Regions from separate parts of the Homo sapiens genome. Here regions 1, 2, 3 and 4 are each linked to region 5. The links are contacts of gene promoters, found by promoter capture Hi-C in blood cells and fetal thymus (Javierre and others, 2016). All regions are on one chromosome and are shown on one strand. The core of a region is centred on a gene start or on the middle of the fragment in contact, and the rest is flanking DNA. Distances in the headings are between cores, read along the strand shown. Region 1 overlaps SRD5A3 (steroid 5 alpha-reductase 3). Region 2 overlaps CLOCK (clock circadian regulator). Region 3 overlaps CRACD (capping protein inhibiting regulator of actin dynamics). Region 4 overlaps CLOCK (clock circadian regulator). Region 5 holds the start of EXOC1 (exocyst complex component 1).

The links. The method cuts DNA at HindIII sites, captures the fragments that hold promoters and counts their contacts. A CHiCAGO score of 5 or more calls a contact.
Region 1: a fragment that was not itself captured here is called in contact with the fragment with the promoter of EXOC1 in region 5 in 2 of 17 cell types (naive B cells and activated CD4 T cells); the score reaches 5.8 in naive B cells.
Region 2: a contact is called between a fragment that was not itself captured here and the fragment with the promoter of EXOC1 in region 5, in 1 of 17 cell types (total CD4 T cells). The highest score is 5.2, in total CD4 T cells.
Region 3: a fragment that was not itself captured here is called in contact with the fragment with the promoter of EXOC1 in region 5 in 2 of 17 cell types (megakaryocytes and fetal thymus); the score reaches 6.4 in megakaryocytes.
Region 4: a contact is called between a fragment that was not itself captured here and the fragment with the promoter of EXOC1 in region 5, in 5 of 17 cell types (naive CD4 T cells, total B cells, naive B cells and 2 more). The highest score is 6.0, in naive CD4 T cells.

What each region holds. Positions count from the first base shown.
Region 1 is chr4:55,361,925-55,364,624 of GRCh38, forward strand. SRD5A3 (steroid 5 alpha-reductase 3) reads left to right here. Exons shown (of 5, transcript NM_024592.5): 3 at 2,150-2,347. Among named protein-coding and RNA genes, the nearest start is that of LINC02928, 15 kb to the right of the region's middle. RefSeq lists an enhancer at 2,652-2,700. The HindIII fragment of the contact is 6,744 bases long and covers 1-2,700 here.
Region 2 is chr4:55,454,647-55,457,346 of GRCh38, forward strand. It overlaps CLOCK (clock circadian regulator), which reads right to left. Exons shown (of 23, transcript NM_004898.4): 12 at 1,572-1,654; 13 at 1,251-1,357. Among named protein-coding and RNA genes, the nearest start is that of TMEM165, 60 kb to the left of the region's middle. The HindIII fragment of the contact is 1,919 bases long and covers 485-2,403 here.
Region 3 is chr4:56,300,256-56,302,955 of GRCh38, forward strand. The region is part of intron 4 of CRACD (capping protein inhibiting regulator of actin dynamics); the gene reads left to right. Among named protein-coding and RNA genes, the nearest start is that of AASDH, 86 kb to the right of the region's middle. The HindIII fragment of the contact is 1,165 bases long and covers 806-1,970 here.
Region 4 is chr4:55,437,281-55,439,980 of GRCh38, forward strand. It overlaps CLOCK (clock circadian regulator), which reads right to left. Exons shown (of 23, transcript NM_004898.4): 22 at 1,002-1,257. It also overlaps a transcript of TMEM165 not described here. Among named protein-coding and RNA genes, the nearest start is that of TMEM165, 43 kb to the left of the region's middle. The HindIII fragment of the contact is 726 bases long and covers 895-1,620 here.
Region 5 is chr4:55,852,374-55,855,073 of GRCh38, forward strand. EXOC1 (exocyst complex component 1) reads left to right here and starts at 1,275. Exons shown (of 19, transcript NM_001024924.2): 1 at 1,275-1,580. RefSeq lists a silencer at 1,067-1,166. The HindIII fragment of the contact is 2,625 bases long and covers 1-2,532 here.

The DNA.
Region 1 (2,700 bases), core at 22-2,521, 490 kb before region 5:
TGGTATTTGGAGGGTTGGTTGTGAGGATATGAGGAATTCTATTTGTTTGCTTTAACTTGTTCCTAAGGAGTTAAAACTAAGTTTTAGTTCATTTAAAATACAAAAACAGTCAAAGCTAATCTGTGCTGATAGGGGTTGTTCCCCATGGGAAGTTTGGGGGAGGGGTCGTGCCTACACTAGGGGGTGCTGTTCGTGTTCTGTTTCTTCTTTTTTTTTTTTTTGAGATGGAGCCTTGCTCTGTTGCCCAGGCTGGAGTGCAGTGGCCTGATCTCAGCTCACCACAACCTACCCCTCCCGGGTTCAAGCGATTCTCCTGCCTCAGCCTCCTGAGTAGCTGGGACTACAGGCATGCGCCACCATGCCCGGCTAATTTTTGTATTTTTAGTAGAGACAGGGTTTCACTCTGTTGGCCAGGCTGGTCTTGAACTCCTGACCTTGTGATCCGCCTGCCTCAGCCTCTCAAAGTGCTGGGATTACAGGCATGAGCCACCGCATCCAGCCTGTTTCTTTTGTTTGTTTCATTTTTTTCTTTCTTTTTCTTTTTTTAAGAGAGAGGGTCTCACTCTGTTGTACAGGCTGGAGTGCCGTGGCATGATCATAGCTCACTGCAGCCTTTAACTCCTGGGCTCGAGCAGTCCTCCCTCCTCCACCTCTTGAGTAGTTGGGACTACAGGTGCACGCCACTATGCCCAGCTAATTTTTTTTTTAATGTTTTTAGAGATGGGGTACCTGCTGTGTTGCCCAGGCTGGTCTCAAACTCCTGGTCTCAAGCGATCCTCCAACCTCAGCTTCCTAAAGTGTTCTGTTTCTGGATCTGGGTGCTGTTACATGGGTGGGATTGGTTGGCTTAATTTGTAAAAGTTAATTAAGTTGCATCTTTATGGTGTGCATGCGTGTGTGTGTGTTTGTGTGTGAGACTTTTTTTTTTTTTTTTTTAATGGAGACAGAGTCTTGCTCTATCTCCCAGGCTGATTGCAGTGGCCCAATCTTGGCTCACTGCAACCTCCACCTCCCAGGTTCAAGCAGTTCTACTACCTCAGCCTGCCAAGTAGCTGGTTCTACAGGCGCACACCACCATGCCTGGCTAATTTTTTGTATTTTTAGTAGAGACAGGGTTTCACCATGTTGCCCAGGCTGGTCTCGAACTCCTGAGCTCAGGCAATCCACCCGCCTCCAACTCCCAAAGTGGTAGGATTACAGGCATGAGCCATCGCCCCCGGCCGTGACTCATTTCTTTTTTAAGTGACTGGGCGTGGTATCTCACACCTAAAATCCCAGCACTTTGGGAGGCTGAGGCTGGAGGATGGCTTGAGGCCCGGAGTTCGAGACCAGCCTGGGCAACAAAAAAAATTTTTTTTTAATTAGTCAGGTGTGGTGGCACATGACTATAGTTCTAGCCACTCAGGAAGCTGAGACAGAGGATCACTTGAGCTCAGGAGTTCAAAGCTGCAGTGAGGCCTGACTGTGCCACTGCACTCTAGCCTGGGTGACAGAGCAAGACCCTGTCTCAAAAATAAAGAAGTTGACACATAAAATTAACCAAAAAATAAAAAACAAAAAAGAAAAAAAGAGAAACTAAGTGTGTGTTTTTTTAAAGCCAGCTTTTCTTCAGATTTTTTGGTGGGCAGGTCGTGAAAGACAGGTGAGGAAGTAGATCTTGGGCTCAGCATGCCTCTAAAAGTATAATTTCTTTTTTTTAATGTGGAAAGAAATGCATAACTCTGTTTCTGTTCCTGTCCCCCTCTCTGCCTCTGTGATGCCTGAGATACTGGGGATCCCACAGCTGGGGCCACTCAGAGGCTACCAGGAACGCTTCCAGTTTGCATCTGGCTGTTAGTGCCAGGACCAGAAACCCACAGACCTCTTCACAGACCTCCTGACCGTGATGTCCCTGAAGCCTGGAAGGCTGTCACACAATGAAGCAGAATTGAGTGATGGGTGTTTGTGAACCCAGTGAACTGTGTAACACAGTGAACTGTGTAATTTGAGTGAAGTCAAATTCCTTGACTTCATTTGGCCCATTTCTTCCTTACTACCAAAAAGAAAGATGTTAGATGGGATTTAATACTTTGCTTAACAGTACAGAAAAACAAAACTTTGGATTAATCCCAGAAGAGAAATGCTGACCCTGTTGCCTTCTGAATTGTAGGAGGGGAGCTGGCACTGTCTGCATTCTTAGTGCTAGTATTTCTGTGGCTGCACAGCTTACGAAGACTCTTCGAGTGCCTCTACGTCAGTGTCTTCTCCAATGTCATGATTCACGTCGTGCAGTACTGTTTTGGACTTGTCTATTATGTCCTTGTTGGCCTAACTGTGCTGAGCCAAGTGCCAATGGATGGCAGGAATGGTGAGTGGATCCAGCCCTGCCAGGAGCTCCCCACCCCAGGGTGTATGATGCGCTCTCGGGGCTTGTGCTGTGCTAAGCATTATGAGACATGCAGAAGTAAGAGACAGGCCCAATGCATTTTGCATTTCAGGAGATGAGACTCAAGTCGATTTTAAAAGGCCGGGCGTGGTCGCTTACACCTGTAATCCCACCACTTTGGGAGGCTGAGGCAGGTGGATCACTTGAGGCCAGGAGTTCGAGACCAGCCTGGCCAACATGGTGAAACTCTGTCTCTACTAAAAATTAAAAAAAAAAATTAGCCAGGCGTGGTGGCACACGCCTGTAGTCCCAGCTACTGGGGAGGCTGAGGCAGG
Region 2 (2,700 bases), core at 194-2,693, 400 kb before region 5:
AGTTAAATTAATTTGGGAAACTTTTTGTTAAATAGGTGTCTTCAGTTTTCTCAAAACCTAGAGTATGCTAATGCATGTGCAGATTCTCTGAGGGATTATGAAGTGTTTCCCCATCTTCCTTGACTATAAAGTCTTTTTTTATGGACCAACATTCGGTGGAACAAACCTTAGAAAATGCTAGTCAAGAATCTCTCAATCTGTCCCCCCACCCCCCAACCCCGCCGCCACCGCCTCTCACTCTCTAAGGAGGAAATCAAGGTCTACAAACAAACTTGCTGTCCAAAGTTACCCAGCTAGTTAATAGAGGTATCAGCTCTTTAGACAACATCATGGTGCTTAATGCCCACATCTTTTGTGCTGAAATGACTTTACTCTGAAAATTTTCCATAGAGTTAATGCTATTATACAACCTGCTTCATTTTCATACAGTGAGGTTTATAACAGCAGCATAAAACGTCATGAAAAGGTCTAAAATATCTAGTTAAGCTTTAGTGAACACTCAAGATGGTAAGCATCTGGGAGGAGGATCAGAGAAGCAAATAAAACATATCATTAAGGCAAACCTCATCATTAAAACAAACTTCTAAAATAAATACATGTGATAAAAAGAGTAGGCCTAGGCTCCAATCCTGTCTCTGCCACCAATGAGCTATGAAATTATGGGTGAATTACTTAGCCTTACTGTGTTCTCAGCTTACTCATGAAGATAATAATAGCATCTACCTTTTAGAACTGTGATGGAGAATAATGAAGATAATAGATGTAAAGTGTTTAGAACAGTGCCTGGCACAAAGGATGATAATGCTCCTGCTCTAACAACAATAATAAGCAGATAACACCAAGCACTTACTATGAGCTTTCTAAGACAGATTTTCCAGACATGTACCTAGCTCCTGAAAAGATTCACATGCCTCAAAATCAAAATTTAGGAAACAATACTCCAAAAGTTTGAAGTATTACAATTTTCAAAGGAATCTACTTCTCTTACTCCAGATATAGAGCTCACGTGCTTCAGAACAAGGTGTATTAGATGCAATATTATAAAATTCTACTTATTATAAAAATAGGAACAAGTTTAAACTTGATCTATGATTCCTACTACATTGGTTATATACATAAAGCAAAATCTTTTAGCATATTTCAAAAATATGAAAATGATTATAAATCTGTGTCTTACTACCTATCATTTCAGGACAGGACTTCTGCTTATAAAACAGTTATTATCACCAGAAATGTTAAAATCTACTTACAGTGCTCATGACATTTTGCCAAATTTTCTAGGTCATCCACATGATAGTAATCATAGCCTGATGTTCCCAGAACTTCAAATGGCAAATACCCTATTATGGGTGGTGCCCTAAATTACACAGAAAACAATCATTATTATAAGTTTTTCCATAATAAGAAATATTTCAACTAGAAATAAACTTTGGGGGGGGGGCTTTATTTTTCAAAAAATGGGAACAGGTTTCAAAGTCCTAATTTAAAAAAAAGTTTGCCCTTGATCCATTAATTTCAAGAATTATATAACATGACTATTACCTTTTCATGGAATTTAAAAATGGAATTACCTGTGATCTAGAAACAGAAACTTCCATTCTAAACTATGTCTAGATGTAAACTCTTCATTGGGTTCTTCAACAGTGCACATTTCCTACAAATAAATAATTAAAATTTATAAATACTTTGTGTCCTTAAGAATATTAAATATTGCTACATATAAAAATAAGTCATGGCCAGGTGCAGTGGCTCACACCTGTAATCCCAGCACTTTGGGAGGCTGAGGTGGGCAAATCACTTAGGTCAGGAGTTTGAGACCAGCCTGGCCAACATGGTGAAACCCGATTTCTACTAAAAATACAAAAAATAGCAGGGCACGGTGGCGGGCACCTGTAATCCCAGCTATTCGGCAGGCTGAGGCAGCAGGATCACTTGAACCCAGGAGGTGGAGGTTAAATAAATACATAAATAAATAGTCATTACTAGATAAACTTTTCCTAAACAAGTTAGTTGTTTCTATGTATGTATATATTTACCTATTTCTTTGTTTGACACAGGGTCTCACTCTGTCACTCAGCCTGAAGTACAGTGGTGTGATCTCAGTTCACTGCAGCCTCAACATCCTAGGCTCAAGCGATCCTCCTGCCTCAGCTTCCCAAGTAGCTGGGACTATAGGGATGCACCACCACGCCCGGCTAATTTTTGTATTTTTATTTGTAGAGGTGGGGGGTCTATGTTGTCTAGGCTGGTCTTCAACTCCTGGGCTCAAGCAACCTGCCCACCACAGCCTCCCAAAGTGCTGGGATTCTAGGCATAAGCCAAAATGCAGGCCCTTCTAAACAAGTTAATATATTTTAATTTTCCAGTACTAAAGAATGTGGTAATAAATAACCTTTAGATGCAAGCTTTTGGGTGGGTACTTCTCACTCTACACATTTTCCATTCACACATGCCTATAAACGCTTATTCAAAATTCAGACCTCTCTCCTGAATTACAGTTCCATATTTCCAAATATCTGAATGTCCTCATACATCTCAAATTCAATATGTCCTAAAATAAACTAACTGCTTTACTCCTCACACCCAATCACACAATTTTCCGTATTATTCTATACATGTGTAGTGGCCAGTGTCTAGAAATCTGATAGTTAAAAAAACATACTCTTTCATTTTTACCTTTCATCATCTAAGTGGCCATTA
Region 3 (2,700 bases), core at 138-2,637, 450 kb after region 5:
TGTAGCATGTGGCAGACAGGGAAGTAGCCAAGAGACCTTGGAACGACACCCAACTTGCCTAGGTCTTGATGCCTGCTGCCACCGCTGCCCAAAGCCATAGTCCTGCCCTCAGGGCCAACCCCCAGACATGTCCTTCAAATCTTAGCATTTCCTAACTGGCTTCCATTCTTGGTTCTAGCTGGCCGTGCTCTAACACTTTTTATAGAAAAAGCAAGCTGTGACTTCTTATAGGTTGAAGAAGAGGGAAGTATGGTGATGGCCAAAGAAAACCTTGACCCCCCTCCTCCTTACCTTTCCTTCTTCAAGTCTTTTGATTCTTGCAATATTATTCCTAAGAAGTTGTGAACTTCTGGTTCATTGGATCCCCTTTCTAAGAGGAATGACTTACAGATTTCAGTTCACAAAACAGCTGTATTTTATGAGAGCTTTTTAGGAGTTTTTAAAAAATCAGATAAAAATCTCTTGTCTTCAATGATACCTGCTCTGTCACATCATACCACATGCCACTGCCACGCCAAGAAGTGGATTTAGTGTTGTAAAAAAGTATACTATATAATTCTGCAGTATTGGAAAGATAGAAACCCAATAAAAATATTTCTGTTAACAGTAAGGCGTGATTTTAAATAACCTGATGTCATAATTAATAAAATGTAAAATGACTAACTTCCCCGAAGTGACAATTGCATAAACACAGGAAGAAAAATGTGAGTAAAGCAGAATAACTGTTTAATTTGTGTGCGCTCATTTTGACAATATCTATTCAGATGAAGTCTGCCTAGTTTTGCTTCCGCTGCATGGATTCACAAGCTTCCTTTCAGCTCTGTAGTTATACTTTTGAAAACATAAAAGGCTTTGTTCATTCTTTGAGGAGGGAAATGGGGACCATTATCATAGAAAATGTGATTTTTTTTTTGGCGTGACTTGAGATATAACTGAATCATCCCCAAAAAGACTGTGCTTTATTTTTCAGTCGACTAAGCAGTATGTTCCTGGTAAGTCGTAGAAGTGATAGTAACTTTATTAACTTGCATGAATGCTTTGCATTTTTCCATGACAACGTGATGCTGGTATTGATGCTTAGTAAGCAGCCTAAGAGACCGCCCCCTTGTAGATGCCAGCATGGAATGAGAGAATTTAGTTGTGTCTGAGGCATGTATGTTTTTATGTCTGGAATTGTCTTTGTGTATGTGTGTATGTTTATTTTTAAAAAGAGAGAAGTAATGGAAAACACCTATTTGACAGTGTATGTCCTGGCAAGCTGATTAGCCACCATTATTAAGACATTCTTCTGAGATGAGATGTCTACTGGAGTGCCTTTTTTCTCTGTGGCTTAAGAAACTTCCCAGCCCTTCGAGTTCCTAGAGACCCACGGAAGGGTGTCTGTCTGTAATGCCTGCCTTTGGAAAGGCTGCCCTCTAGTGCCTGCACATGGTGGGCTCACCGAGAACTGTCTTAGTTTGCAGGTTGGTATCTCTCCACGGAGTACAGAAGAACTCAATACAGCAAAAACCAGCCTCCCCTTTCCTGAGTAATGTGAATCTACCATCTGCCACAATTTCTGTGGCAGATTTAAAAGAAAAAAATCACTATTTAAAAGAAAAATCACCATTTTTTTTCTAAAGATAAAAATAGTGCACGTGCAGAGTGAAAACAAATTTTAATATATGGGGCAGTTATAGGGACAAAACCAACAGTGGTGTCCTTTGTGAGGACTCTGTACATAACAGAGTCGCTCTGTGGCCAGTAGTGTGAATACCATTTGAATGAGTGACAGAATGCAGTGGAATATAAAGCCAGCCCCACCTGGCTGTATGGCTTTGGGTGAAGTCGTTCAACCTCTCTGGCACTTTCTCCTCCTGAAAACTAAGGGGCATGCACACAAGGGGTGATCTCAGGGCCCCTCCTGCTCTTAAGATCTGCGATCTCTATACAATCACTATTGAACTGCTGTAGCATGGAGCGGCTTCAGAAGCTTCGCACTTCGTTGCATTTCAGCTACAATGACCTTGACATTCCCTACAGCTGCCCACCAGCATGGATCAGGGAGGGTGCCTGTTTGTGTAAGATCAGACCGGGCTGTGAGGTATGTACCAACTGGTGATAAAACTCAGGGGTACCACAGTCTGAGGCTGCAGGTAATTGTTAGGATTATACCACACCTTTGTCAGGAAATGCTTAGTCTGTTTGTACCACGGATTATCTGGTGTAGGAGGGAACACCGCCATCCTGAGTGGCTTGTATCTCCCACCGAGCTGGATTTCACTTACAAATACCAAAGTCATACATTCGGGGATTTTGACACCTTACTGCAGCTGTCAAGGACACAAAGAATAAACACCCGCTCTTAGCCACTTCTTCCTAGAGCAGGATGTCTTTAATTCTGTATGCTTTTTCTTTTTTTTTATTATTATTCATTTTAACTATGGAGATACCTGTAGTTTGCTCAAAAAGACAGCAACTTTACTTATTTATTTTTTTCTGCTTTGCTCTTTAGACATAGTCTGAAGGATAGGAAAATCTAGACACTGGCAGAGAGCTGCAGAATATGGTGTGCTCGGCATTTCCACATTGTAGGAATAAGCCTTATAAATATGGATATGCATTCCTGTAATGTCATTCTCCAGCATTCCACATTACAACAAAATGGTCCAATTTGAATGAATAAAATATAGTTCCTTGTAGCTCACATTCCAGTCTCAA
Region 4 (2,700 bases), core at 8-2,507, 420 kb before region 5:
TATATAACCCAGAAATTGATGATAAGTGCCCAGCCTAGATGAAGTGGTCTCTAGTACACATACAGACTAGCCTACATTCAAAATTGCTCCAGCTAGGCCAGAAGGGGAAAAGGTAGATTTCTAGTGAGGATCCTGAGGTCCAGATAAGGGTTTTGTACATTTCTCTGCTGAGGATCTTGCCTAGTGACTTTCTTCTGTATCCTATAGATAAGGAGAGCCTGTCTGATTCACTAAATGATATCTGTGTCTATATTTTGGCTAATCCAAGTGTCTATTACATTTGTCAATATAGCGGTCACAAATAACAGCTAGCCATGTGCCTTGTCTTATATTCAGTGATTTACAAGCACTATTAATCCATGAGGTATCAATTATTATGACCTCCACTTTACACGTGACGTTTACCAAGAGTAAGCAACCTGCCAAAGGTCACGCAGTACGTGGTGCAGCAGTGACTCAACCCCAAGGCAGCTAGACTTTACAGCCCAAGTTCTTAGCTATACATATACTTAGCTCATAGATATACTACACCTCCATGGTATTTCTCCTCTGATATTAATTTACAACTGAAAAATTATAATAAGATTGAATTCAACAAAATAATTTAAGGTAACACCTATACTAGTAAAAAGAAATCCCTGCTCTGTACAGAGCAGAGTTTATGGTTGGCTAGAAAAAGGAGGAAAGAGGTGCTTGCTTAAGTTCCAGAAACTCTAGCCAGAGACTAAGAAAACAGGTGGGCAGGAAGTAGGCCACTCACTCTGTCCAGCAGTTCTGATAACTGGGTATGCCCAATGGCACGTCTAAAGTCTTCCAACGACTGAGCAAGGGAAGAAAAAAAATCGCCAACCAGAACAAGCTTTCTATCTTTGTAGAGATTTAAACTGTACAATAAGCTTTTGTGAATTTTTCACATCACTCACAAATCTGTTCACTTAATGCTTAATTTCATTACATGAAAGTAAATGAGTTTGAAGCAGCTTCCCCATGGGGAGAATTACCTGTAAAAATTGTTGCGGTGGCTGGGTCAGCTGAGCCTGAGATGGTTGCTGAACTGAAGTGAGCTGCTGCTCCTGGGAGCTCTGCTGCTGCTGCTGCTGCGTTACTGACAATGTCTGTGACTGTTGCTGTTGTGTAGCAAAAGTAGGATATGCAGTCACCACCTGGCCCATAAGCATAGTACTAGGTACCATGACTGCCCCACAAGCTACAGGAGCAGTCACTAATTTGGTCACAAGTTGTTGACCTTGAGAAAATCTGTTAGAAGAAAGAAGGAAAAAAATTGGAGTCCAAAGTACAAGGTATACATCATAAAACGCAGTGGAGTAAATACTTACCTAAGATAATACCCAATGACATTGCCAGTTTGTTTTTCAAGGTCTGTATATTCCTACTTTGTTTCATTTTAAAAGATTCCCTTTGGTGTAACAGTAAAACAAAAAATTCATACAGCAAGATCAATGTGTAACAAAAATACAAAACGTCTTTGGATATCCACATTCAAAAGAATAAAGTTAGATCCTTACCTCACATCACAGACAAAGATTAACTTGAAATGGACCAAAGACCAAAACATAAGAGCTAATGCTATAAAACTCTTAGAAGAAAACATAGGGGAAAAGCTTCATGACATTGGATTTAGCAATAGTTAGCAGCTGGAATTAGCAATAATTTCTTGGATATGATACCAAAAGTACAGGCAACAAAAGAACAGATAAACAGATAAACTGGACTGTATCAAATTAAAAATCTTGTGAATCAAAGGGCACTATCAACAGAGTAAAAAGGTAACTGTCCCATCCCACAGATGGGAGAAAATATCTGCATATCATCCTTCTGATAAGGGATTAGTAACCAGAATGTCTAAGAGCTCCTTCAACTCAACAACAATCAACCCAATTAAAAAAATGGGCAAAGGTCAAACTTGAACAAACACTTCTCCAAAGAAGATACACAAATGGCTAATAAGCACATGAAAAGGTGCTCCACATCACTAATCATTAGGGAAATACAAATCAAAACCACAACAAGAGGCTACTTTATACCCATCAGGATGGCTATTATAAAAAACAAACAACAATAGAAAATGACCAGTGTTGGCAAGCAAGTAGAGAAACCTTGTGCAGTGCTGGTGGGAATGTAAAAATGGTGCAGCCACTATGGAAAACAGTATGCAGTTCCTCAAAAAATTCACTATAGGATTACTATATGAAGGAATTCCACTTCTGCTTATATAACCCCCCAAAATGAAAGCAGGGACTCAAAGAGATATTTGTACACCCATAATCATAAGCAGCATTATTCACAGGAGCCAAAAAGTGGAAGTAACCCAAGACTCCATTGACAGACGGAATGAATAAGCAAAACATAGTAGAGTAGAATATTACTTAGCCTTAAAAAGGAAAGAAATTCTGACAATTGCTGTAACATGGATGAACCCTGAGAACATTATCCTAAGTAAAATAAGCCATTCACAAAAGGACAAATACTGTATGATTCCATTTATATGAGGTACTTAGACTAGTCCAATTTACAGGGACAGAAAGTAGAATGGTGGTTGGGGAGAGAAGAATGGGGACTTGTATAATGGGTATGGAGTTTCTGTTTGGGAAGATGAAAAAAGTTCTGGAAATGGTTAGGGGAGATGGTAACAATCGTACTCAGTGACAATGAACTGTATATTTTAAAACGGTTAACATG
Region 5 (2,700 bases), core at 25-2,524:
TTTTGTCTTCTTCCTCTTCCCTCATTTTGCTCCCTGGGATCAAATTTCCAAATAAACTATTGCATATAAGTGTCACTTTGCAGGGAATCCAAGAGGAGAGAGGATAATTTAATTTTTGGACACACAAGTTTGAGGTGTCTATAAGACATCCAAGTGGAAATGTCAGGCGATGGGCAGTATATACACAAATCTTGAGGTTCAAGAAAGAGATCTAGGCTTCTGAAATGCAATTCATTTCCCAACTTTGAGGAGGGCTATAAACATACAGGTAAATAAAAGAAAGATAATAGGACCAAAAAACACATGCAATTGTCATAGAGTGTCCACAGTAAGCATTCCGGTGCCAAGCAGGAAAGGGTCTTTGTAAAGATATAACCAGATCCTGCTCTTAAAAGGGAAGTCATTTGATGAAAGTGAAAAGTATTCTAACTACTGTTTGCTCATTTAAATTTCTAGCACATTTATCTGATCTGTACCTCTCTTTGGTCACTTATTTTGTGTCCTATTTTATATATATTTGTACCTACACCTTGTCTAGTCCTACCACACTGTGAACTCCTTTAGGTTAAGATTCATGCCTGAATCACCTCTGTACCTGGAATCAAAGTGCCTAGCATTAAAAAAAAAAGGTGCCAGGAATATTGAATAAATAAAACACCTACCTGCAACCAGCAACATTGGCATCATTTATGCATCCCAAACTTAAATATGCATAAGCATCATCTTGCTAAGATGCAGATTCTGATTCAGTAGATCTGAAGTGAGCCAGAGAGGCTGCATTTCCTAAAAAGCCCCCAGATGATACCCAAGCAGCTGATCCACGGACCACACTTTGAGTATCAAGGTCATGAGGACAATGGTTCTTGACCTTAGCTGCATATGAGAATCATCTGGGAAGATATTAAAAGTACTGATGTCTGGGTCCCACCCGCAGGGATTCTGATTTAACTCATTTAAGCTCTCCAAAGTTTAAGTAGCAAAGATCTAGAGTTAATAGAGCTTTACGTATGAAAAAAGAAAACATTTAATCGAATTTCTTCTTAAATGAATTGCTGCAAATATCTGAATAAATAACTCTTAATCCCCAACTCCCAAGTCAGTTTCTGTGCCACAAAGGCCCCGCCCCTGCCCTTCCCTGACACGCCCCTCCAATGAGGCCTTGTTCCGCCTGGCCACGCCCGTCGGTTGGCGCCCCGCCCCTCCGCGTCTATTGGCCGCTCCCTTTTTCTCCCATCGCTGCTTCTTCCTTCTCTACGCGGTCAACTTCCGGCGCGGAGTTTGTCACGTGCCCGGATATAGGAAGTGTTGGGGGAACGGCCGCTTCCCGTTCAACGCTTTATTGAGGGGCGTATCCTAGTGGCCCCCATCCGGTCTCCGTTTTGGAAGACCCGCCTCGGCACAGCCAGGCTCAGTCCGGCCTTGCGGTAAGCCTTCGGCCGCGGCTGCCCGGTAGTCCCGGCGGCGGCGGACAGACGAGCTGACAGGCACCAGGGTCTAAGGCGGCTCCTCAGTCCGGCTGCTGTCTCCACGCCTGGGGTCGGGCACCGCTCCTTCTGACCTTCCTTTCCCCGTTTGTCCCGGTAAGACGAAGTTTGGTCAGAGCATTCTCCAGTCCCTTGTCCTCGGGTCTAGGAGAATGCGGAGCTGGGAGGGCAGTCCTCACGGGCCCCATTACGGTTCCGCCCATCGGAACCAGATTTTGTTTGTGCAAAATGACCCTGATCGTAAGCTCTTTGGCGTGGTCCAGGAGAGGAGAGCGTGACTGTGCCTTCCTCTTTGTCCAAATTCACATCCCGGCCCCCCAACCCCAACTCCCCCCCACCCCCCGCCAAATCTCTTAAGTGTATTTCTCTATTTCCTTGCACAGTTATATCTTCTAGATGGCAATGCTTCATGCATTAATATATCTCAGCAGCATACAGGGCCCAATGCACACGGGCACTCACACTGACAGGCTATTTGTCACACAGTGTGGTGGTCCAACTGAGCTGAAGGAAACAACCAGTACAGAGTAAGCAGTGGATGGCTGCCTTTGGAACGTGGTCAGATATGGGTTCTCAGACCTGGAGAATAATTTTAGAGGACCTCTAGGGATTTATTTACTGACTTTCAGAAAAGTACCGTAAAGACTGAAGAGTTAATCACTCGACTCTTAGGATGTAAATGCCATAGAAACACCCGGCTTCAGGTCTTCATAAACATATCTGTCATGTTGACTACTGTAACCTAGAATAGTGTCTGCCACCTAATAAGCATGAGTATTTGCTGAATGAATGAAGAGTCACATACTGCTTTTCATTATGGCTAACTCCTTTATGAGGTATGCCCAATCCTGTCTTGTTTTGCCTCTTACTGTACACTCAGTTGCTTTTAGCCAGAGAAGGAGTATGTGGTAAACGTTGGTCCCTATTATTCATTTGACCAGTTTTTACTATTCAGTTCTAATTACCTTAATAGATATTTAAGTATCCACTAAACACAAAACTATGATGAACATCCCTCCCTTCTTTAAGAGAATTCTTGAGATAGAGAAGCTTATGATTTAATGAGCCCATTAGACGGCAAATGCAGTAAGTGCTGTAGAAATTTAGAGGAGAGATCACTTTGGATTAAGATCTTCATTGAATCAACTTCATGTAAACCATGAAGTGTAATTAGGGTTTGGATAGGGCGGAGATGATATTCCTTACATGGAAAGTA